Regions from separate parts of the Homo sapiens genome. Here all the other regions are linked to region 2. Evidence: promoter capture Hi-C in 16 types of primary human blood cells and fetal thymus (Javierre and others, 2016). All regions are on one chromosome and are shown on one strand. Each heading gives the region's core, a stretch centred on a gene start or on the middle of the fragment in contact. The rest is flanking DNA. Distances are from core to core; before and after follow the strand shown. Region 1 overlaps PHF20 (PHD finger protein 20). Region 2 holds the start of CEP250-AS1 (CEP250 antisense RNA 1). Region 3 overlaps PHF20 (PHD finger protein 20). Region 4 overlaps PHF20 (PHD finger protein 20).

Region 1 (6,211 bases), core at 2,927-5,426, 410 kb after region 2:
TTTGATGTTTATTCCATCAGAGAAAACAGAAACTACTTTGTCTTAGTGTTGCCAAATTGAAAAGAGCCTTTGGTTTGGCCAGGATCTTTGTGATAGTGGCACCTGGCAGTGTCTTCCCTCCTGAGGAGCATCCGTGCTCACTTGAGCCTCTCTGATCCTAGTACTGCCTGTCAGAGGCAGCTGGTCCACCTGAGTGCCAAGCTGGCGCTCCTTTGGAGTTTCAGCTGTACTAACTTTTGCTTAGCTGTGAGGAATCAAGGATTTTGCTTTTGCAGGGGGAATTTTTAACCTGTAAACTAAACTCGCTTGCTTTGAAAGGTTTACTAGATTGGCAGATTATTAGTCTGATTATTAGTCCAGTCATATCTATCTTTCAACAGATAGTTTGGCCATGACTTTTTTTTTTTTTTGAGATGGAGTTTCGCTCTTGTCACCCAGGTCAATGGTGTGATCTTGGCTCATTGCAACCTCCGCCACCTGGGTTCAAGCAATTCACCTGCCTCAGCCTCCCAGGTAGCTGGGATTACAGGCACACGCCACCACAGCTAGCTAATTTTTGTATTTTTAGTAGAGACGGGGTTTTGCCATGTTGGCCAGGCTTGTCTTGAACTCCTTACCTCAAGTGATTCACCCACCTCGGTCTCCTAAAGTACTAGGATTACAGGCATGAGCCACCACTCCCAGCCGGCCATGGCTTTTTTCTTTTTTTGTTTTCAGACAGAGTTTGGCTCTTGTTGCCCAGGCTGCAGTGCAATGGTGTGATCGCAGCTCATTTCAACCTCCACCTAGCAGGTTCAAGTGATTCTCCTGCCTCAGCCCCCCGAGTAGCTGGGATTACAGGCACCTGCCACCACGCCCAGCTAATTTTTTGTATTTTTAGTAGAGATGGGGTTTCACCATGTTGGCCAGGCTGGTCTTGAACTCCTGACCTCAGGTGATCTGCCTGCCTTGGCTTCCCAAAATGCTGGGATTACAGGCATGAGCCACTGTGCCCCGCCAACATGTACTGTTATTTATGTTTTAAAAAGATAAAACAATGTTCAGTATTTTGGTGGAACAAGCTTGGTACTATCCTGCATTGTATAGAGTATTACAAAAGAAAATCTTTAGGTGTCATAGTAAAAGATGTCCCAAAAGGTGGAGATAATAATCACACTGAAATGTGAATAGTCATACTAGGAACCTTGTGGTTGGTTTTGAATTTCACACTTTCAGGAGGACGTAGACGAAATGAAGTGCTTTCAGGGTGATATGCGTCCCAGCCAGGGCATATGAAGACTGGTTGAAGAAATGTTTCACACTTGGTTGATAATTATAATAGCTGTCTCCAGCCATGTTCCAGAAATAACATAAGCCTGCTTATGATGTATTTTATATTTGAAATGATAATGGCTTCCATGTGTTGATCACCTACTTTGTGCCAAGTACATACATTATCCATAACCTTTTCTCCAAATCTTTGAAATAGGTGGTATTCTTCCCTTAAGAATCTGGATAATTAGACTAGCTTGCACAGCTAATTTATGCTGCTAATGAAAGGTAGACCTGGGATTAAATGTTGTGCTTTTTGTACTATACCATACTGCCTCTGGCATGAGCATGCAGTGAGGCTGTGGGTGGTGGACACTTCCCCTCTTCTGCTTATGATCAGGTTAATTCCTGAAATTTAAAATGACATTGAATAGTCATAGTAGATAATATTGAGCACTTATGTGCCGTACACCTTTCTAAGCTCTTTGCATGTAATTTATTTAATTCTCACAACTCAGCGAAGTTGTTACCATTATCGTCTCCATCCTGCACATGAGGAAACTGAGGCAAGGGGTGTAGGTGGAAGAACTCGGTTTTGAAATAGGCTGTCCAGCTGCAGAACCCACACTTAGCCCCTGTACTGTTTGATTTATGTAGATGACCATTGTGTATACACAAGAGTGCAAGTTTTTGTTTTTGTTTTTGAGACGGAGTCTCACTCTTGTCACCCAGGCTAGAGTGCAATGGCACAATCTCGGCTCACTGCGATCTCGACCTCCTGGTTCAAGTGATTCTCCTGCCTCGGCCTCCTGAGTAAGCTGGATCTACAGGCGCGCACCATGCCCAGCTAATTTTTCTTCTTCTTTTTTTTTTGAGACAAAGTCTCGCTCTGTCGCCCAGGCTGGGGTACAGTGGCGTGATCTTGACCCACTGCAACCTCTGCCTCCTGGGTTCAAGCAATTCTTCCACCTCAGCTTCCCAAGTAGCTGGGACTACAGGCATGTGCCACCATGCCTGGCTAATTTTTATAATTTTATTTGAGACAAGGTTTTACCATGTTGGCCAGGCTGGTCTCAAACTCTTGACCTCAAGTGATCTGCCCACCTCAGCCTCTCAAAGTGCTGGGATTACAGGTGTGAGCCACCGTGCCCCGCTAATTTTTGTATTTTAGTAGAGATGGGGTTTCGCCATGTTGGCCAGGCTGGTCTTGAACTCCTGACTGCAAGTGATCTGCCCGCCTCAGTTTCCCAAAGTGCTGGAATTATAGTCGTGAGCCACTGCACAGGGTTCCAGCCTTAGTCTTTTTTAGCCTACAAAATGGCAAGTTTATATGATTTAACCTAATATAGATCAAGGGAAGGATATTCCAAAATAAACTATTTTTTGTTTTAGGAAAGAATTGGATGTATTAAAGTTTTGTGTTTTGAACTTCTCCACTGACATACTTTTCCTGTCCAATTATTTGTCTGAGAAGTGTGTATTCTGTTTCACATCGTGTCACTTTTGCTTCTCCTTTTTTTTTTTTTTTTTTTTTTGAGACAGAGTTTCACTCTTATTGCCCAAGCCAGAATGCAATGGCGCGATCTCAGCTACTGCAACCTTCGCCTCCCAGGTTCAAGTGATTCTCCTGCCTCAGCCTCCGGAGTTGCTGGGATTATAGATGCATGCCACCACGCCCAGCTAATTTTTTATATTTTTAGTGGAAATGGGGTTTCACCATGTTAGCCAGGCTGGTCTGGAATTCCCGACGTCATATGATCCGCCTGCCTTGGTCTCCCAAAGTGCTAGGATTACAGGCGTGAGCCATCGCGCCTGGCCAACTTTTTCTTCTCTTACCTGCAACTAATTGATCTGGCATCTTTTATATCTCTTGTTATAGGTAGAAAGTGATTTTAAGGCATTATGCTTTGGGATGTGTGTGTGTGTGTGTGTGTGTGTGTGTGTGTATAGGTTTTTGTTGGTTTAAATTGGCTCTATAACAGCATCCTTCAGACAACCAAACCTAATTTTGAAGTGTAGAGTATAATTTAGATCAAATTTAAGAGTTTTAAAATTACCTCTGATTATGGGATGACACTTGAAAAAGTAATCATAATACTTACCAAAGGTTTAACAGGCTACCTGCTTCCAGTGGAGATTGTGTGATTGTGTTTACGAAAAATCTGATTAACTCAAGAAAGGGCCATTCATTGCATACCGAATTCCTAATTTTTTAAAAAAAGATCCATTTAATATAATATATTCTTGGGTGACCAAATCTGTAGCATAGGAATGACTTAATGTGATTTTTTGTTGGTGGGAAGACATTCTAAAGGGAGTCCTCAATAAACTGCATTTCTAACACACAAGAGGTTCTTGTGGCCTGGGGGCGGTGGCTCACACCTGTAATTCCAGCACTCTGGGAGGCTGAGGCAGGCGGATCACTTGAAGTCAGGAGTTCGAGACCAGGCTGGACCAGTCTCTACTAAAGCTATGAAAAAAAAAAAACTGGACGTGGTGGTGGGCATCTGTAATCCCAGCTACTCAGGAGGCTGAGGCTGGAGAATCGCTTGAACTGGGGAGGTGGAGGTTGCAGTGAGCCGAGATCTCACCATTGCACTCCAGCCTGGACAAAGAGCAAGACTCCGTCTCAAAAAAAAAAAAAAAAAAAAGTCCTTGTGATGGGTTTACTTTTTGTCATTGGTGCCTGACCGACTATTGCCTTCTGCTTATTTGTCTTTTAGGGTCATGCTTTTATTGTCTCTTTGAAATTGATCATTGAGTCCTATGAGTCCTCCTTATGCCTTCCACCTCCATTTAGTTAGCTGGTTTTTCTTGCAGTCTCTGGGTCCTTTTTGTTGTTGTTTGTTTTGCATTTATTATTATTGTTATTCATACATTTTTGAGACAGGGTCTTACTTTGTTGCCCAGGCTGGAGTGCAGTGGTACAGTCATGGCTCACTGCAGCCTCAACCTGCTGGGCTCAAGGGATCCTCCCACCTGAGCTTTCTGGGTAGCTGGGACTATAGGCACATGCCATCATGCCTGGCTAATTAACAAAATTTTTTTTTTTGTAGAGATGGGGTCTTGCTGAGTTGTCTACACTGGTCTTGAGGATCCTGGCCTCAAGTGATCCTCTTGCCTTGGCCTCATTTATTATTATTTTTAATTGACATGTAATAATTTTACATATTCATGTGGTACAGTGATATTTCCTTACATGTATACGATGTATAATGATTAAATCAGGATAATTGGCAAATCTGTCACCTTGAGCATTTATTTCTTTGTGTTCAGAACATTCAAAATCTGCTTTTCTAGCTATTTGAAAATATACAATAAATTGTTATTAATTATAGTTCCCCCATAGTGCTGTAGAATGCTAGAACTTATTCCTCCTATTCTGGATCCCTTTTTTTTTTTTTTTTTTTTTTTCTGAGACGGGGTCTTGCTCTGTCGCCCAGGCTCGAGTGCAGAGGTGCGATCTCGGCTCACTGCAAACTCCGCCTCCTGGGTTCAAGCCATTCTCCTGTTTCAGCCTTCTGGGTAGCTGGGACTACAGGTGCCCGACACCACGCCCGACTAATTTTGTTGTATTTTTAGTAGAGACAGGGTTTCACCATGTTAGCCAGGATGGTCTCAATCTCCTGACCTTGTGATCTGCCTGCCTCGGCCTCCTAAAGTGCTGGGATTACAGGTGTGAGCCACCACGCCCGGTGTTTTTTTTTTGTTTTGTTTTGTTTTTTGAGACAGAGTCTTGCTCTGTCACCCAGGCTGTAGTGCGGTGGTGTGATCTTGGCTCACTGCAACCTCCGCCTCCCAGGTTCAAGCGATTCTTCTGCCTCAACCTCCCGAGTAGCTGGGATTACAGGCATGTGCCACCATGCCCAGCTAATTTTTGTATTTTTAGTAGAGATGGGGTTTCACCATGTTGTCCAGGCTGGTCCGAACTCCTGACCTCAGGTGATCCGCCCACCTCGGCCTCCCAAAGTGCTGAGATTACAGGCGTGAGCCACTGCACCCACCAAATCTGGATCCTTTTGATCAGACAAAGTATATTGTAAAACAAAGTACGTGTTGAAATCTCAAAGACTCAATACTAAAACCTTTGTAACTGTTACACTTTCCTTGCACAAAAACTGACGTAAAATCTCTTAGGTTTCATAGAGAGATACTGAGGAATGTTCCCTATTTCCGTCCACACAGATAGGTACCAGGATGGTAGTAAATGTAAGTCTGATCCAACTCATAAGTGCTAGCTTGAGATCCTTGATTTTATTTATTTTATTTATTTTTTATTTTTTTTGAGACAGAGTCTGGCTCTGTTGACCAGGGTGGAGCACAGTGGCATGATCTCAGCTCACTGCAACTTCTGCCTTCGGGTTCAAGCAATTATCGTGCCTCAGCCTCCCGAATAGCTAGAATTACAGATGTGCTCCACCATGCCTGGCTAATTTTTTTGTTTGTTTGTTTTTTGTTTGAGTCAAAGTCTTGCTCTTGTCTCCCAGGCTGGAGTGCAATGGCATGATCTCGACTTACTGCAACCTCCGCCTCCCGGGTTCAAGCAATTCTCCTGCCTCAGCCTCCCAAGTAGCTGGGATTACAGGCACCTGCCATCATGCCTGGCTAATTTTTGTATTTTTAGTAGAGACAGGGTTTCACCATATTGGCCAGGCTGGTCTCGAACTCCTGACCTCAGGCGATCTGCCTCCCTTGGCCTCCCAAAGTGCTGGGATTACAGGTGTGAACCACCATGCCCAGCCCATTTCTTTTGTATTTTTAATAAAGATGGGGTTTTACCATGTTGGTCAGGCTGGTCATGAACTCCTGATCTCGAGTGATCCACCTGCCTTGGCCTCCCAAAGTACTAGGATTACAAGTGTGAGCTGCTCTGCTTGACCTGAGATCCTTTATTTTTATTTTTATTTTTATCTTTTTAAGGATTTTTCCTTAAAGTATATGAAACCCTGAAAACTTGTAC
Region 2 (6,742 bases), core at 3,964-6,463:
TCCAGCCTCCTGAGTAGCTGGGACCACAGGCATGAACCACCATGCCTGGCTAAGTTTTTTTTTTTTTTTTTTTTATAGAGATGGGGTTTCGTCATGTTACCCAGGCTGGTCTTGAACTCCTGGGCTCAGGTAATCTGCCCACCTTGGCCTCCCAAAGTGCTGGGGATTACAGGCGTGAGCCACCACGCCCAGCCACCTGGCTTATTTTTATTTTTATTTTAAATTCTGAATTACATTTGCATTGGGTGAAAGATAGTGGATTTACTTTTTTTTTTTTTTTTTTGAGACACAGTCTTGCTCTGTTGCACAGGCAGTGGTGCTGTTTCAGCTCCGCCTCCTGGGTTCAAGCAATTCTCGTGCTTCAGCCTCCCAAGTAGCTGGGATTACAGGCGCATGCTACCACACCTGGCTAATTTTTGCATTTTTAGTAGACACTGGGTTTCACCACATCAGCCAGGCTGGTCTCGAACTCCTGACCTCAAGACAAGGTCTTGCTATTGCCCAGGCTGGAGTGCAGTTGTACAACTGCACTGTACAACTCTAGCTCACTGAAGCTTCAAGCTCCTGGGCTTAAGCAATCCTTCTGCCTCAGCCTCCAGACTAGCTAGGACTACAGGCATGCACCATCATGCCTGGCTAATTTTTTTTTTTTTTGGTAGAGATGTGATCTCACTTTGTTGCCTAGGCTGGTCTTGAACTCCTAGCTTCAAGCAATCCTCCTGCCACAGCCTCCCAAACTGCTGGGATTATAGGTATGAACTACCACACCTGGCCTACACCACAAGTCTTGCTTTGCTTTTGGCTTCTGTGGAATTTTTATTATTTTCCTGCTGGTTCTGTGATACATTAAAATACATATTTAATATTTTATCCAGCATTTTTTGCGATTTCGTAGCTGGAGGGTTCAGAGATCTTGTTTATCAAGTATCTGGAAATGGAAGTTGACTTGTGCTTTATGTGTATTTGTAATTTGATTGTTATTATGAGGCAGGCTTATTGGCAAGATGATAACCAGAAGTTTGCTTATTTTTGGAATTCTGTGCCTAGTCTATAGTCGGTGCTTAAAAGTATTTGTTGAATGAACACTGATTCTAGCAGGAATCAGATGTATACCATGTACTGAAAACTCCATAAATAAAAGATGCTATAAAACTTCTGAATGATAAGCCAGCTACCTACGTGGCCTTGGTTTCCCTAAAAGGATTGACTATAGTGGCCATATCTGGGTCATGAAAGGGCCTTTTCTCTCTTTTCCTTTTCTGTCATTCAGCTAATCCTCCTGACTTCTGATTGTCCCACTTTATTATTTCTCTATGATTGAGCAGGTCAACTGCCCTCTTAAAACTCTCGACAGCCTGTTCGTTTTAGCAGTGACTGCCTTCTCCTGGAATCCTGGCAATTAGAAGCACTCTTGGGAGGCCGCGCGTGGTGGCTCACACCTGTAATCCCAGCACTTTGGGAGGCCGAGGTGGGCGGATTGCCCAAGGTCAGGAGTTTGAGACCAGTCTGGCCAACCTGGTGACACCCCGTCTCTACTAAAAATACAAAAAAATTAGCCAGGCGTGGTGGCATGCACCTGTAATCCCAGCTACTTGGGAGGTTGAGGCAGGGGAATTGCTTGAACCAGGGAGGTGGAGGTTGCAGTGAGCCAAGATCGCACCACTGCACTCCAGCCTGGGCAACAGAGTGAGACTCTGTCTCAAAGAAAAAAAAGAAAAAGAAACACTCTTGGCAGTTGTATTCTTTATTCTTCCATCTACTGTCTGTCTCCCCTTTAAGAGTAATGATATTGGACACTTGTTAAGCACCTCCCCATGCCAAGCACCATGCTGAATGCTTTATTCACACAATAAAGGTGAATAAATGCATGGAGAAGTCACTCAGGGCTGGGCGTGGTGGCTCACACCTGTAATTCCAACAATTTGGGAGGCCAAGGCGAAAGGATCGCTAGAGGCCAGGAGTTCGAGACCAGCCTGGGCAACATAGCAAGATCCCCATCTCTAAATAAATAAAATATAAAAAGAGAAGTCAGGGTTACATGGCTAATAAGGGGTAGAAAAGGGATTCAGGGCCCAAACTCCTAACCATTTCTTTTTTATCCACCTCTGTAATGTCCCTTCCAAATGGTTGCTTAGCTGCTATTGTATTCCATCACTTGGCTGCCCATTTATTTTAGATAGATCTAGTTATTAGGAAATTCATGTTGAACCAAAACCTATTACCAGGAACAAATGAGCCTTAGATTTGCTTGAAATACCCCACCAACATGGTTGCTTTCTTCTAGGCATGTTACAATTTACTCATGTCCCAGTGGTGTAAAGGTGGCACTTTGAACTGGGCAGAATATTCTGTTCATGGTCATACCAGCAATGCTGGACTGTTACTTCCTACACATCACAGAATTAGCTCTTCTTGTAGCTATAACACACTTCTAACTCACATAGAGCAAATAGATCAGTTTTTTTAACACTTGCAACTGCTATTAACATTCATCTTTTTCATATTTTTACAGTTGGCTTTGGCTTTTTGCAGTCACATACTCTGCCACTGAGCTATACCCGCTGTCTTTGGCTTTTTGAACCAGAGGGTAAAATGATTTGTCATTCATGACTGTCCTGTAACTGACATTACACATTGCCGGGTTTTATAAGGAAGAACAAAGGAAGACCTCTTTTTTTTCTTTTTATTATTATTATTTCTTTTGAGACAGGGTCTTGCTCTGTTGCCCAGGCTGGAGTGCAGTGGCGTGATCAGGGCTTAACGGCAGCCTCACCCTCAAGGCCCTCCTGGGCTCAAGTGATCCTCCTACCTCAGCCTCCCAAGTAGCTGGGACCACAGGAGTGAACCACCACACCTGACTAATTTTTGCATTTTTTGTAGATAAGGGGTTTCACCATGTTGCCTAGGCTGGTCTCAAACTCTTGGGCTCAAGTGATCATCCTACCTCGGCCTCGCAAAATGTTGGGATAATATATGTGAACTACCACGTCCAGCCAGACCACTGTCAATTGTATGGTCTGGGAAGGCTTCACCAAGGAAGTGTTAGTTTAGGCGTGAGGAATGATGGAGTAGGGGGGAGAAGGGCTTTCCAGGTAGAAGGAAGCATGAGTAAAGGCTCTAAGGCATGAACATGTTGGCTGGGTGCAGTGGCTCACACCTGTAATCCTAGCACTTTGGGAGGCCTAAGCGGGCAGATCACTTGAGGTTAGGAGTTCAAAACCAGCCTGGCCAACGTGGTGAAACCATGTCTCTACTAAAAATACAAAAAAAATAGCTGGGAGTGGTGGCGGGCGCCTGTAATCCCAGCTACTTGGGAGGCTGAGGCGGGAGAATCACTTGAACTTGGGAGGCAGAGGTTGCAGTGAGCCGAGATCACCCCACTGCACTCCAGCCTGGGCGATAGAGTGAGACTCTGTCTCAAAAAAAAAAAAAAAGTGCTTAGTGTGCTCAAGGACCTGCAAGGAGGCAAGTGTGTGTAGCCAGGGTGTAGTGAATGAGGGGGAAAGCTGCACAGGATGACACTGGGAAGGCTGAAACACTAGAGGCGTTCCCATTACATGAATAAGCAACGACAAACTTACAAGCATTTTAAAGGAAAAGTGCAGGGAATACTAATGTGATGATGATGCTGGCTGTTGTGTATTGCCCGCTTTCTGTGTGCTACGCACATTTAAAGTGATTCACATGACTTATCTCCATCCTCAATACAACCTGAGGAGAATGACACTGTTGTTATCCCCATTTTAATAGATGAAGAAACTGAGGCACAGAGTTGTTTAGAAATTGAGATCATGCTAGTAGTGGTAGATTAAAGATTCTCCACCCAGGCAGCCCAACTCCAGAGCCCTTCACCTCTATCCTGTACACCTAATAGAGGGTCCTGAACTAGTCAGAGAGCTTGGGAAAGCTTTGGTTGCTGGAAGACCGCTAAGACAAGAAGCACCCCTATCCTAATGCTCTTATATAATACAGGGAGACATCCTCACTGGGCCAGGCCTGATTCTTCAGGGGCTAACTCTGCAACTCTGAGTAGAGGAGAGCAGGCAGCAGACAGCCAGAATTGGCCGCCTCAGTTCATTGTTACAACTGTCAACCACAATGTGGCTGCTTTAAAGATAACAAATACGGAGCTGTGTGTGGTGTCATGCCCCTGTGTTCTTAGCTACTCAGGAGGCTGAGGCAGGAGGACCACTTGCGCCCAGGAGTTCGAGTCCAGCCTGGGCAACATAGTGAGACCCCATCTCTAAAAATAAGAATGCCTAGGCTAGGCACAGTGGCTCATGCCTATAATCCCAGCACTTTGGGAGGCCGAGGCAGGCAGATCACTTGAGGTCAGGAGTTCATGACCAGCCTGGCCAACATGTTGAAACCCCATCTCTACTAAAAATACAAAAATTAGCTGGGCATGGTGGGGGGCACCTGTAGTCCCAGCTGCTAGGGAGGCTGAGACAGGAGAATCACTTGAACCTGAAAGGTGGAGGTTGCAGTGAGCGGAGATCGTGCCACTGCAGTCCAGCCTGGGTGACAGGGCAAGACTCCGTCTCCAAAAAAAAATTAAAAATAGAAATACATTTTAAAACCCAGATACTTGTAGCATATATAAGGGACAATTGCAGTTTGGAAGGTACTTCCACATGTATTATATAATTTTATTTTTTAAAATGAATCTCATTTGGTTGTCATGAAATTTGGTAAGATAGATAAGGCAGGGAATATTAGCCTTGCTTTACAGATGAGGCAACAGGCTTAGAGAGGTACCAAGGTCACCCCACTAGTGAGTAGTAGAGAGACTTTGTTTTTCCAATCCAGTACCCCTGCCTCCCCTCCTCACCCATTTGGTTCTAATGGTGTTTCCTTCATGTGGCCAGGAGAAGGAGCGCTCCTGGCACCAGCAGGAGCTGGCAAAGGCTCTGGAGAGCTTAGAAAGGGAAAAAATGGAGCTGGAAATGAGGCTAAAGGAGCAGCAGACAGAAATGGAGGCCATCCAGGCCCAGAGGGAAGAAGAACGGACCCAGGCAGAGAGTGCCCTATGCCAGGTGGGAAGCTAGGAGGATTGGAGCTGCACGTCCAGTCAGCGATCTCCTTACCTTGACCACTTCCTTTTCTACTCCCAAGAGGAGTGCTGCAGAGGGGCTTCCAGAAGAGAGGGTAGCTACCCACTTTGCTAACAGTGAGCAGGGTGGTCCGCACCATTAGCCACAGTTCCGGCAGTATGTCATACTTCCTGAGGGAGGGCTGACATGTACCACATCCTGTCAGCTTGCAAACCAGTGGTAATCTTTGCACTTCCTTGTTCTGAACCCATGGGCTCAGACCTTCCTTTGCCCTCAGCCCCTTCCCATTTGCTAGGAGAGCCCTAGGGCAGCTGGGATGTGCTTGTGGCCTCGTTGGTGAGCATGGTAATCCTGAGCCCACAAGCTGTTACCCCCCTACCCCTCCACAGATGCAGCTGGAAACAGAGAAGGAGAGAGTATCCCTCCTGGAGACACTGCTGCAGACGCAGAAGGAGCTAGCAGATGCCAGCCAACAACTGGAACGACTGAGGCAGGACATGAAAGTCCAGAAATTAAAGGAGCAGGTATGGAGGGTGGTCTCGGGAGTAGGGGAGAAAGGGGCACTCATTTACCCATTCGACCATGAAGGGTTCTTGGGCACTTCTTATGTGCCAGGCCCTGTGCTAGGTGCTGACATATGACAAGTACATAAAGGTATGGCACAGGCTGGGCAGGGTAGATCACGCCTGTAATCCCAGCACTTTGGCAGGCCAAGGTGGGTGGATCACCTAAGGTCAGGAGTTAAAGACCAACCTGAGCAACATGGTGAAACCCATCTCTACTAAAAATACAAAAATTAGCCGGGCATGGTGGCAGGCCCCTGTAATCCCAGCACATTGGGAGGCTGAGGCGGACAGATCAGTTGAGGTCAGGAGTTCGAGACTAGCCTGGCCAACATGGTGAAACCTCATCTCTACAAAAATACAAAAATTAGCTGTGTGTGGTGGCATTTGCCTGTAATCCCAGCTGCTTGGGAGGCTGAAGCAGGAGAATAGCTTGAGCCCAGGAGGCGGAGGTTGCAGTGAGCCGAGGTCACGCCACTGCATTCCAGCCTTGGTGATAGAGCGAGTCTCAAAAAAAAAAAAAAAAAAAAAAAGGTGTGGCACAGCAGTCAGCATAACAGACATTGCCCCTGCTCTCAAGGAACTTACATTCCTGTGGCAGAAATGGATGACAAATGAGCAGACACAAAGTAAATGAGATTATTACAGTTTGTGATAAGTGCTGTAAAGGAAATAGAATGATACAACTGAGAGTGAGTCAAAGGAGGTTCACTTTGCACTTAGTGGTCAGGGAAGGCCTCACTGAGAAAGTAACATCTGAGCTGAGACTTGAAGGTTAGAAAGAAACCAGCTCCGTGATACAACATAGGTGAACCTTGAAAACATCAGGTTAAGTGGAAGAGCCATATATTTTATATGATATGCTTCCATTTATATGAAACACCAAGAATAGGCAACTCTATAGAGGCAGAAAACAGATTTATGGTGGGGAATGGGGTGGGGAATGGGGATTGACTGTGAATGGGCACGGGGTTTATTTTGGGATTGATGGAAATGTTCTAAGATTGATTGCGATGATAGTTGCACAACTCTGTGAATATCCTAAAACCCACTACACAGTATACGTTAAATGAGTGAATTGTATGGTATATGAGTTATATCTCAAGCCATTTGAAAAAAAAAATG
Region 3 (6,026 bases), core at 2,370-4,869, 370 kb after region 2:
GGTAGGCCCTTAAGCACAGGCCCAAGGCTCCTGGACTTGGCTTCTTTTCCAAGAGGGTACAGTGGTTTGGCTAGAGTTATCTGTCATGGGCAATTTCAAAGGTTTTTCGTATACTATTGGAATAGATTGAGTTTTTTTTTTTTTTCTGTAGGACTGCACTGCCTTATAAATGTTTTGATAGTCTCTATATTAGTAACACTTATGTTTTTGAAGTTATAATACGTTTACTGTAGAAAAATATATAAGTACAAAGCACAAAGAAAATAAAAACTATAATTCCATCAAACAGATATCATTGTTCTTAACGTTTTGGTGTGTAACTTGACTTAACAATTTGATGTATACATCTTTCTGTGTTTTTTATTAAACGTACGTGTGTGTATTTATTTATTTTCAAAATTGGAGTTGTGGTACATTAATATAGTACTGCTCTTTTAACTAACATTTCCCCATGTTCCTTAATATTCTGAGAATATAATTTTTAACAGCTATGTAGTATTCTGTAATATGTATGTAACTACTTTGTGTAACCAATTCCCAAATGGTCATTAAGGATATTTGTAAATCCAGGTACACAAGTCTGATTATTATTTTAGCTAATTTTATTTCTAGGAATTTATTCTAGTTCAAAGGTATAACCTTTTTAGTTTTGACTCAAATTGCCATCTCCTCCCTGAACTCCCAACAAGAAGGGCAATTTCAGTTTATATTTCTGCTGGCTGTTACCGAGAATGCCTGTTCTCAAACCTGGCTGCTTTCAGAATAGTTTGGGGGACTTGAAAAAATATTTCCTTGTTTATTATTTTTCCCTGTAGAACAAATTAAACTTTTATTTGTTGAGTATTTAGGTACTCCTTCCTGCTTCCAGTGAAAACCTATGTGCCTAGTGTGTGCTAGGTGCTGGGCATCCCATATGAACATAGTATGGTGGTCTCTGCTCTTTTGAGGTCCTAGAAGAGAGATATGTACACAAATAAACTTAATTATAGTTTTGGAATCTCTAGAGCTTTCAGACCTGGCCTTATTATGAAACAGTCACAATAGAGGACCCTCGATTTTTAGTGTGAATTTTAAAGAATGTAATTTAGGGAGAACATAACTAAGAAGCGGTATTTCCTACCAATAGACAAAAACTCCAAGTAGCTCAGGAACATAGTAGGTGGCTTGTTGAACTGAGCACAGCCTTTACCTGATAGAGAAAGCAGAGACCCTGGTTCTGGGTTGGATAATCTTTATAGTTTTCCTGTTAAGCTTCCAGTTATCAGTTTTTGTTTTTCTATAGACAAGACATCAGCATTTGCTGGCAAACTGAACCAGGCCTCTGAAAAGCTCTGGGTCAGTATAGTCATGCTGGGGATAAGGACAGAGCATGAAGGCATTTTCTTCGAACACCTTTGTCAGAAAGATTGCTTTCCAGAATTTTAAGGCCAGGCATGGTGACTCATGCCTACAATCCCAATACTTTAGGAGGCTGAGGCAGGAGGATTGCTTGAGCCCAGGAGTTTGAGACCAGCCTGGGCAACATAGGGAGACCCTATTGCTACAAAAAATAACAATAAAAAACTTAGCTGGGTGTGGTGAAACATGCCTGTGGTCCCAGCTACTCAGAAGGCTGAGATGGGAGGATCGCTTGGGCCTGGGAGGTCGAGGCTGCATGAGCCATGATTGTGCCACTGCATTCCAGCCTGGGCAACAGAGAGAGACTCTGTCTCAGAAACAAAAACAAACAAAAACCCAGAATTTTATTTTCTAGTGACTTATTCGTCATAATAAGGGAGATTGCACTGTCTCCGGAATAATTGAATTGTTTTAAGTTTAAGGATTGGTTCTCAACTCAGTACAGGTGGCTGTTGTCAGTGGTGCTTTGTATATGTGATCTGGCGTATGTCTTGTTTTAATTTCTTTGTTTGTCTTCATAAGTTTGTAAGAAACTCCTAATTTTGTATTTGCAAGTAATCACGAAGTGTTTCATCGCTATTTTGCTCATTTTAGAATATTGTGGGTAATGCTAGGCCTAAAGAAACAGATCACAAAAGTCTTTCATCATCTCCTGATAAACGAGAGAAGTTTAAAGAACAGAGAAAAGCAACAGTGAATGTGAAGAAAGACAAAGAAGATAAACCCTTAAAGACAGAAAAGCGACCCAAGCAGCCTGATAAAGAAGGAAAGTTAATCTGTTCTGAAAAGGGGAAAGTGTCAGAGAAAAGTCTTCCCAAGAACGAGAAGGAAGACAAGGAAAACATTTCCGAAAATGACAGAGAGTATTCTGGAGATGCCCAAGTGGATAAGAAACCTGAAAATGACATTGTGAAGAGTCCACAAGAAAACTTGAGGGAACCCAAAAGAAAACGAGGCAGACCCCCTTCCATAGCTCCTACTGGTGAGTTTTTTAAGTGGGCTCTGCAATGGGCAATGCCAGAGTATTCTTCTGTGGCCCTTTGTGGTTCTTTGTAACTTGTGTACGTCAATCGTTTATTTTTGTGACTGATTTTGAATTGTCTTATGATCTGGAAACAAGTTGTGTTCATGAAGCTGAATTTAAGTGAGGTACATATCCAAGTGAATCTAAGTTGGGAAGCATGTTCATAACTGAGTTTGCTAAAGTAGTGGTTAACTGTTGACTAGATACTTCAGCTTATATGATAAAACCTGATAAACCGAGGCCTTTTGCTTATGCTTTTTCAAATGATCTCAGTTTAAGTCAGCTTAATAGAATCTAGAATCAGGAAATAGAGTTTTAATGAGACAGACATGAAAGAAAAGTAATAGTAAAAAGGTATGGGCTTCTGAAGGAGATGGGGACAAAGGAACATTGAAACTAGAAAAGCATGGGTGCATTTTGAAATTGAGCTCCTTGGAGAGTGATTATTGATTAGAAATTTTCACAGTCTAAATAAAAAGCCGAGATGGCTAATTGGTAAGAGTCAAGGTTAGAGGGTATAGATTTAGGGAAGAATGCAGTTATTAAAAAACTTAAAATTTGGAATTCTTCTAGAATAACCAAGAATGAAACAAGCCCTGATTTCTTCCTAAGCCAAACACTCGTTCTCCAAATCAATTCAATGGCATGAAGAGGCCCCCCCGGTTCTCTGGACTGAGCCTGCCATTGATTAATATGTGCAGTGACCTTCAGACATTCTTGATTGTGCATTCTTTATGTGTTCAGTTGAAAAACTGTGAATCCCCTAGCACGTTTTAAAGCAGTATTTATCTTTTTCTCACAAGTTTAAATAGCTGCAGTGGATACATTTAAAATACAAAACATGAAGGCTGAGTGCGTTGGTGCATGTTTGTTGTCCCAGCTACTCAGGAGGCTGAGGTGGGAGGATTGCTTGAGCCCAAGAATTCCAAACCAGCCTGGACAATGTAGTGACACCCCATCTCAAAACACACACACACACACACACACACACACACACACACACACACACAAATATTTTCATCAAAACTGTGGAACTACAGAGCAAACCTTTTCATTATTCCCTAACGATGTAGAGAATGCAAAGCCAGTCTTCCTTATCAAATCAGACTATCAGACTTAATTTCTGTGGAAAAAAATTTAACTTACTTCACATAAGTGTATTAGTACTCATTGTAAGATAGGAAATTATATAATAGGTTGATTTGTCTCTATATGAAATAAGGGATCTTTCCCTGTAGTGCTTGTAACTGGGTTTTGCCCTCAAGAGCTGAGGGTGCTGCAATTGTCTGTAGGCCTAAATAGGGCCTAGACCTCTGCTGTCTAGTATGGTAGCCACTAGCTGCATGGGGCTATTGACTACTTGAAATGTAGCTAGTCTGAATTGAGATATGCTGTAAGTGTAAGTAAATGCTAGATTTCAAATACTTAGTTCAAAAAAAGAATGTAACACACCTCGATTTTAAAATACTGATTACGGCTGGGCCTGTAATCTCAGTGGTTTGGGAGGTCCAGGCGGGTGGATTACTTGAGGTTAGGAGTTTGAGACCAGCCTGGCCAACATGGTGAAACCCCGTCTCTACTGAAAAAATATAAAGACAAATTAGCCAGGCTTGGTGGTGGGTGCCTGTAATCCCAGCTACTCAGGAGGCTGAGGCAAGAGAATTGCTTGAAACCCAGGAGGCGGAGGTTGCAGTGAGCTGAGATCGGGCCACTGCATTCCAGCTTGGGCGACAAAACAAAAAAAAATTGATTCCATGTTGAAATGTTTTTAGAGGCTGGGTGCAGTGCCTCATCCCTGTAATCATGCCAGCACTTTGGGAGGCTGATGAGGGAGGATCACTTGAGTCCAGAAGTTCGAGACCAGCCTTGGCAACATAGTGAGACCTCATCTCTACAAAAAATGAAAAAATTGGCTGAGAGTGGTGGCACGTGCTTGTAGTCCCAGCGATTCCAGAGTCTGAGGCAGGAAGGTTGCTGAGCCCAGTTTAAAAAAAAAATTTTTTTTAAAGTACTGGATTAAATAAAATAGTATTTAAATTAACTTTTTAAGTTGTGTTTTTTTTTTTTTTTTTTTTTTTTTGACAGGGTCTCACTCTGTTACCTAGGCTGGAGTGCAGTGGCGTGATTGTGGCTCACTCCATTCTCCACCTCCTAGGCTCAAGCGATGCTCCTATCTCAGCCTCCTGAGTAGCTGGGACTACAGGCACATGCCACCATGCCCAGCTAATTTATTTCTTGTAGAGACAGGGTTTCACTATGTTGCCCAGGTTTGTCTCAATCTCTGGGCCTCAAGCAAGCAATCCTGCCTTGGCCTCTGAAAGTGCTGAGATTACAGGCATGAGCCACCATGCCTGGCACTTAAAAACCAAACCCTCTTATGTGATGAGTAAAAAATTCAAAATTGGCCAGGCGTGGTGGCTCAGGAATTTGAGACCAGGCTGGCCAACATGGTGAAATCCCGTCTCCACTAAAAATACAAAAATTGGCCGGGCATGGTGGTTCATGCCTGTAATCCCAGCATTCTGGGAGACCAACATGGGTGGGTCACCTGAGGTCAGGAGTTCGAGACCAGCCTGGCCAACATGGTGAAACCCCCATCTCTACTAACAACACAAAAATTAGATGAGCGTGGTGGCATGCACCTGTAATCCCACCTACTTGGGAGGCTGAGGCAGGAGAATCTCTTGAACCCAGGAGGCAGAGGTTACAGTGAGCCGATATCGCACCACTGCTCTCCAGCTTGGGTGACAGAGCGAGACTCCATCTCAAAAAAACAAAAAATAATAAAATAAAATAAAATTACATGTGGCTTGCACTCTTAGTATATTTCTGTTGGACAGCACTGACTTTATGTTCACTGGCTTTCTCAACTGAGTTTTGGGAGAGAAGCCACAATACCCAAGGCATCCTTGATCTGTGATGGATTGACCTTAGTGCATTGAGAATGGTACTAGCTGTATACCACCCTTAGGAAAACAGAGAAAATATATCTCTGTTCAGATGGGGAACCCCAGTTGAGAAAATCTGGAAGTTTTAAACCTCCAGGCTGAGCACCATGTTAAGATGTGGGATGAGTGAGAGGCAGGCCCTTTTATGTAAAGTGGGAGAAGGGCAGTTAAAGGCAGTTATTATACAAGGAGAGGTGGAAAATGTAAACTGGCAGAAATCTGACATGTCCTTAGGCAGAAATCTGACATGTCCTTAGCTCAGTTTAGGAAAGAGTATGTATGAGAATTGAGTGTTTTGAAACTAATTCTCCTTTAGGTATTCATGCCCTGGCTTATACCCTCCAGAAGGTATGTACAGAAGTAGTTGTACCCCAACAAGCAGACTGCTCCTTTGAAGCCACATGACTCCATTGAGATAAGAACAAGGACATTCAGTTTTTATATTTTTATAAGTGTAGGATTTCATAATGAGTAGGATAAATTTAATATAGAAGGGATGTTTTCTAAGTTTATGGTTAATCCTTGCCCAAGGCATTTGTGAAAACAGATTCCAGCCATGCCTCAGTTCTTTTCCAGTCAGACTGTCTGGATGGGAATCTGGGAATATGAATTGTTAACAAGCTTCCCAGATGACTTATACTGTAAGAAGAGTTTGG
Region 4 (6,650 bases), core at 1,159-3,658, 450 kb after region 2:
TGAAAATGGAGCCCAGTTAAAAAAGAAATGTTGTTTGAGGATTCTGGGTACAGTCTGGCTATGATTTTTTACTGTAACTGGGAATATAAAACATACATGAAATAACTCAGGAGAAAATGCCATCTGTTATACAAGTGATGCCATGAGGTGTGGCCGGGACACATGTGGCTGATGTCAATGCAGAGGAGGAGAGTGCTAATAGGAGGGCTTCCTAAAACTCCTGAGACTGAAGTTGAGCTTTAAGGAGAGTGATGGTGTTTCCTACTGGAGAGGACTCAGGGTGGATGATCTGGCTAGACTGGAAAAAGAGTTGCCCTGTTGGAGGACAGTGAGAGAGACAGCAAGACCTAGGCTGGGTGTGGTGGCTCACACCTATAATCCCAGTACTTTGGGAGGTCAAGGTGGGAGGATTGCTTGAGGCCAGCCTGGGCATCACAGTCTCTACAAAAAAATAAAAAACTAGCCAAGTGTAGGGGTGTAGTCCCAGCTACTTGGGAGGCTGAGGCGGGAGGACTGCTTGAGCCCAGGAGTTGGAGGCTGCAGTGAGCTGTGATTATGTCACGGTACTCCAGCCTGTGTAACACAGACCCTGTCTCTAAAAAAATAAACTAAAAAAAAGGGATTGTAACTGATGCCACTGTCTGTGAAAAACATATTATTAGAGAGCTGAAGGAGGATATAATGTTAGACAAAAAAGTGTAGCTCTTGAGAGAATGGCAGTAGGAGTGGCTCTGTAGTCCCTGAAAAGAGGATTAGCACCATGGAAACAGGGTGAATGTTCGGTTGTTGCCACAGGGACCTTCCCTGAGGGAGAAGTTAAAGTCTACTCACATCTTACTTCCTTAATCCTCTCTTCAGCCAGGTTTGGCCTCTCTAGCCCTGCCGAATGGGCAGTGTGGCAAGGATGGTAGGCCTGAACCCCCTTCTTTGGCCTCACAGATGACCTCTTGTGTGTCTTGCTAATTCAGAGCCACATATTCTGTACATTTCTAAGACTCTAGGCCCTGAGAGAGATAACAAGAAAGCATTAAAATAAATGATAAAGCTTAAAGATTTTATTTAGGTAAACAGACTTTTGCATAGTATTTAAGATTAATCAAAATCCCTTTTTATGGAATCAACTCTTTATTTAAACACCAAGATAAACTAAGCTTTCTTTCTTTCTTTTTTTTTTGAGATGGAGTCTCGCTCTGTTGCCCGGGCTGGAGTGCAGTGGTGCCATCTCAGCTCACTGCAAGCTCCGCCTCCCGGGTTCACGCCATTCTCCTGCCTCAGCCTCCCGCGTAGCTGGGACTACAGGTGCCCGCCACCAGGCCCGGCTAATTTTTTATATTTTTAGTAGAGACAGGGTTTCACTGTGTTAGCCAGGATGGTCTCGATCTCCTGACCTCATGATCCGCCCACCTTGGCCTCCCAAAGTGCTGGGATTATAGACGTGAGCCACCGTACCCAGCCCTAAACTAAGCTTTCATAACCAAGTTTTAAAATAGGAATTTGGATGTAACATTCCTTTTTTAAAAAGCCGGCCTGCTTAGCTGGGTGTGGTGGTGCACACGTATAATCCTAGCTACTTGGGAGGCTGAAGCAGCAGAATCTAGGAGGCGGAGGTTGCAGTGAGCTGAGATCATATCACTGCACTCCAGACTGGGCAACAGAGTGAGACTCAGTCTGAAAATAAAAAATTTAAAAAAATTTAAAAGCTGACCTGGCGTGGTGGCTCACACTTGTAATCCCAGTGCTTTGGGAGGCCAAGGAGTTCAAGGTTACAGTGAGCTATGATCGTGTCACTGTACTCCAGCCTGGGTGACAGAGCAAGACCCCATTTCTTTAAAAAAAAAAAAAAAAAAGCCTAGTAAGCTATTATATGAAATATATATATATATATGCCATTGTTTTACAATTGGCCATTATTTAATTATTTATGTAGTTATATGAATAGTACTTTATTTATTTATTTATTTATTTATTTTTGAGACGGAGTCTCGGTCTGTTGCCCAGGCTGGAGTGCAGTGGCACGATCTCGGCTCACCACAACCTCCACCTCCTGGCTTCAAGCAATTCTCCTGCTTCAGCCTCCCGAGTAGCTGGGATTATAGGTGCACACCGCCATGCCTGGCTAATTTTTGTATTTTTAATAGAGACGGGGTTTCACTATGTTGGCCAGGCTGGTCTCGATCTCCTGACCTCATGATCTGCCTGCCTCGGGCTCCCAAAGTGCTGGGATTACAGGTGTGAGCCACTGCACCCAGCCTGAACAGTACTTTAAAACTAAAAGACAAAGGATATTTAATGACCATGAAAAGTAAAAAAGTCTTTTGGCATTAGAGAGATTATTTTCTTAAATAAAAAATGTTGCCTTGGTGAGCAGTGGTCTCTATACACATGATCTTAGTGTATTTGAACAGAATTTTTTCCTCTGTAACCTTCTGTCTTGCTAGCAACCACTATGCTAGTTGGAAGCTGTTCTGCATCTTTAAAAGAGACACTTGGGATGGTGCAGCACATGGTATGGAGAGGGTGGCCTGCTGGATGCTGGGGTCCAGAGGAGATGCTGTTGACTTCCCACAGTCCTGGCTTTGTTCTTCAGCCTAACAGACCTAGACAGACAGCTTCCATCTCAGGAACTCCACACACTCCTGTTAACCAAGCTCAGGCACTACTGAGTGGCTTAGACTCTTCCAGTCTGAGCGTTGGTGCGCTTTCACACTGTGCATGCCTCCTGGGCCACCGTAGTATCGGGATGTCTTTGGTGAGCCTGGAACTAGATCCAAGGTAGTTAGGGTGACCTTAAGAGGGGCCTCTCAGCAACTGTAGGATCATCTTGCAAAAGATTGACTGACTCTCTTTGCTGTTGGAGTGACCCATCCAGTCCTGACTGCCTTTTGTCCATTTATTTATTTTTATTTTATTTTATTTTTTTAAGACGGAGTCTTGCTCTTTCTCGCCCAGGCTGGAGTACAGTGGCATGATCTCGGCTTACTGAAGCCTCTGCCTCCCAGGTTTAAGCGACTCTTCCTTCCTCAGCCTCCCAAGTAGCAGGCAGATGCCTGCCACCACACCTGGCTGATTTTGTATTTTTAATAGAGATGGGGTTTCACCATGTTGGCCAGGCTTGTCTTGAATTTCTGACCTCAGGTGATCCACCTCCCTTGACCTCCCAAGGTGTTGGGATTACAGGCGTGCACGTCCGGCCTCTCCATTTATTCTTCTGCCTGTTTGCTGAACAGTCCCCTGTCTCCTTCTAGTTTTTTTTAAAGACTTACTGGTGTTTTGAAACTGGTCACTATCCAGTTTTCTTGCTCAGCAGGCCACTAGTTCCTCTCACATGACTGATCTTTTACTAATGGTTTTCAAGCTTAAGTCTGAGGAGGTGGTCTTATTTTTCTTATTTCCAAGTCCTTGTACTTGCTGGAATTAGGAAGAGAGAGGGTTCCTCCTTCTTGGAACCCCCAAATACCAACAAGAAATATGATGGAGGAGGATAAACTACATAGGGCCCAGAGCAATGGGTAGGGCGCTTTGCTGGACCACACATTCCTTCTCTCGCTGTGTTTGTTGCAGGCTTGCCACATTTCAGACACAGGTGAGTGTTAGGGATATAGTGGCAAGCAAGGCAGACTCAGCCTTTGCCCTCGTGGAACTTGATCTAGTGGGAGAGACATATATTAAACAAATCATCCCATTACCTGTAATGACAAACCATAGTAAATGCTCAAAGGAGAACATGTGATATCATAGCACCTGTAACACAAGGACCAGATTCAGGGTATAGGGTTGGGGAAGGCTTCCCTAAAGAATAGCTCACAAGAAACAGAGGATTTAGAAAGGTGGAGAGGAAGGTAGGGCTGCATCTGAGGACAGGAGAGGATTGCGCAGTAGGTTGCAGGCTGCTTGATGAAGAGGTACTGGGTGGGCCTTTCTTTTGCTGCACTCCAGGGTCCAGAAGGTGCTCAGTACAGGTTGGTGCATGGACTAGAAAGGCTACAGGCAGGCTGGGATAGCACAGGGGCTACCTGCAGGGGGTGGTTCTTGTCAAAGGTGCAGGGTTCCCAGATGGTCTCTCCCCAAATGCCAGAGCTTTAGGGGGTAGCTTAGGGAAGAACAAACATCTTTCTGTAGAGAAATACTTGTTCTCACAAGCAAGACAGCTTTCTAGATATTGAACCAATGATGATAATGTTAATTAATACCTGAAATCTTACATTAAATATTTAAAGGGGTCCTGCATGGTGGTTCATGCCTGTAATCCTAGCACTTTCAAAGTGGCCAAGGCAGGTGGATCACCTGAGGTCAGGAGTTCGAGGCCAGCCTGGCCAACATGATGAAACCCCATCTCTACTAAAAATAACAAAAATTAGCCAGGCGTGGTGGTGTGTGCCTGTAATACCATCTCCTCAGGAGGCTGAGGCAGGAGAATCGCCTGTACCCGGGAGGCGGAGGTTGCAGTGAGTCGAGATCATTGCCATTGTACTCCAGCCCAGGCAACAAGAGCGAAACTCTGTCTCAAAAGAAAAAAAAAGGCCAGGCCCAGTGGCTCATGCCTGTAATCCTAGCAGTTTGGGAGGCCGAGGTGGGTGGATCACCTGAGGTCAGGAGTTTGAGACCAAAATACAAAAATTCGCCGGGCGTGGTGGCACATGCCTGTAATCCCAGCTACTTTGGAGGCTGAGGCAGGAGAATCGCTTGAACCTAGGAGGCAGAGATTACAGTGAGCTGAGATGGCGCCACTGCACTCCAGCCTGGGCGACACAGTGAGACTCCATCTCAAAAAAATAAATAAATAAGTAAATAAATAAAGGGAGAAAATAATAACAGAGTATTCTGTGCCACTGATGATTGCGTATCAATCAGGAATTAATATGAAGCAAATCAGAGTTTATGATATACAAATAGACCTTTTCAAGACCCTATAGATTTTCATTTTTCTTGACAGGATGCTAAAACACCAGGCTCTCTGATTTTCAACATGGGAAAGCTTTTTATTTTTTATTTTATTTTATTTTATTTTATTTTATTTATTTTATTTTATTTTATTTTATTATTTTATTTATTTTATTTTTTGAGATGGAGTCTCGCTTTGTCGCCAGGCTGGAGTGCAGTGGCACGATCTCGGCTCACTGCGACCTCCGCCTCCCGGGTTCAAGCAATTCTCCTGCCTCAGCTTCCTGAGTAGCTGGGACTACAGACGGGCACCACCATGCCTGGCTAATTTTTGTATTTTTAGTGGAGATGGGGTTTCACCATGTTGGCCAGGATGGTCTTGATCTCTTGACCTTGTGATCTGCCCGCCTCGACCTCCCAAAGTGCTGGGATTATAGGCATGTGCCACCGCGCCCGGCTGGGAAAGCTTTTTAAAGAGTGAGTGGTAACACTCAGAAAGGTGCTTCCTTCCAAGACTTCTAGACTCTGGTAACAGTAGCCTCTGGCAATGTGTGGCTGTTTAACCAAAACTGAATAAAATTTAAAATTCAGTTCCTCAGTTGCATTAGCCATGTTTCCAGCGCTCAATAGCTGCATAAGGCTAGTGGCTACTGTATTGGATGACACAGACTTGGACCATTGATCATCGCAGAAAGTTCTTTTGGACTGTGCTGCTCTAAAGCATTTGTGTTTTGTCCTGGGAGTACCACTTTGTAGAGCAGGTGTTGACACAGTGCTGGCTGAAATGGCCCTTCCTCCCTTGCCCCATGGAGGCTGAAATGGCCCTTCCTCCCTTGCCCCATGTCTGATGGAATAAGGTGCTGAAATGCTTGCTGATGTTCTTGCAAATCAAGTGTTGGGAGTTCACTAGGTCTCATCTCTCTCTTCTGCCGACAGTGTTGGAGAGCTGGCTGGACTACACTGGGGAACTGGAGCCCCCTGAGCCGCTGGCCAGGCTTCCGCAGCTCAAGCATTGTATCAAGCAGCTGCTGATGGACCTGGGCAAGGTGCAGCAGATCGCCCTCTGCTGCTCAACATGAAACTGGGCACCCAAAACTCATGGGGGCACAATCCTGGGGCACCTGCAGGAGGAGCTTCGCATATTTAAATAAATAAACCTAGCATGCTGAATGCACGTGACACCGACTGACTTCAGGGATCTGGGCCAGGAGTGTGGTGGACATTGGACAAAGAGGCCATTTTGGCTGCGGGAGGACACTCTGATCTCGAAGCCTGCCATAAAGGTAGCAAATAGACTCTTGGGATTCCCCTCTTCTGTGCACATCGTTGAATGAAGAGAGTCTTTTTGCACAAACTTCACTTGAAATTGTGCCACTGATGATAAACGGAATGAGAGCCAAAAAAGTTTAGTTGGAGACAGTTGTAAATTCAATTTGGAGTTTATTTAATTGACTTTTCTATCACGTTGGGGCACATGCCAACTCCCTGGTTTCTTCCTGGCATGGTGTTTGGGCAGCAGGCATCATTTTCCTTTTCTAGCTTCATAGGAATATTGTGAGCTCACCATGCTGTGGAGGTTGGGAAAGAGCAGAGTCTTGGCTGCCCTGCTTTCTCCTTAGGACTCTTCACTTTTCTCACCACATCTCTTGCATGACTTCATGGTACTGGGGACAAGTTTGTATGCCTTCACCCCAGAGCTGGCTGGGTTATGGCTTTTGTAGCAGAGCCCATACAGCCTATGGAAGAACTAGAATCTCACTCACAGTAAT

Evidence for each region. The method cuts DNA at HindIII sites, captures the fragments that hold promoters and counts their contacts. A CHiCAGO score of 5 or more calls a contact.
Region 1: a contact is called between a fragment that was not itself captured here and the fragment with the promoter of CEP250-AS1 in region 2, in 2 of 17 cell types (activated CD4 T cells and naive CD4 T cells). The highest score is 5.1, in activated CD4 T cells.
Region 3: a contact is called between a fragment that was not itself captured here and the fragment with the promoter of CEP250-AS1 in region 2, in 1 of 17 cell types (naive B cells). The highest score is 5.2, in naive B cells.
Region 4: a contact is called between a fragment that was not itself captured here and the fragment with the promoter of CEP250-AS1 in region 2, in 1 of 17 cell types (erythroblasts). The highest score is 5.3, in erythroblasts.

Annotation. Positions count from the first base shown.
Region 1 is chr20:35,892,918-35,899,128 of GRCh38, forward strand. The region is part of intron 9 of PHF20 (PHD finger protein 20); the gene reads left to right. Among named protein-coding and RNA genes, the nearest start is that of SCAND1, 58 kb to the right of the region's middle. The HindIII fragment of the contact is 6,235 bases long and covers 1,060-6,211 here.
Region 2 is chr20:35,485,769-35,492,510 of GRCh38, forward strand. It overlaps CEP250-AS1 (CEP250 antisense RNA 1), which reads right to left and starts at 5,214. Exons shown (of 3, transcript NR_184017.1): 1 at 5,088-5,214. CEP250 (centrosomal protein 250) reads left to right here. Exons shown (of 35, transcript NM_007186.6): 21 at 4,869-5,036; 22 at 5,444-5,578. RefSeq lists an enhancer at 5,013-5,172. The HindIII fragment of the contact is 5,140 bases long and covers 3,906-6,742 here.
Region 3 is chr20:35,861,021-35,867,046 of GRCh38, forward strand. PHF20 (PHD finger protein 20) reads left to right here. Exons shown (of 18, transcript NM_016436.5): 6 at 1,993-2,380. Among named protein-coding and RNA genes, the nearest start is that of SCAND1, 90 kb to the right of the region's middle. The HindIII fragment of the contact is 4,740 bases long and covers 1,250-5,989 here.
Region 4 is chr20:35,941,668-35,948,317 of GRCh38, forward strand. PHF20 (PHD finger protein 20) reads left to right here. Exons shown (of 18, transcript NM_016436.5): 18 at 5,818-6,650. The coding sequence ends at 5,960. Among named protein-coding and RNA genes, the nearest start is that of SCAND1, 9.5 kb to the right of the region's middle. The HindIII fragment of the contact is 1,890 bases long and covers 1,464-3,353 here.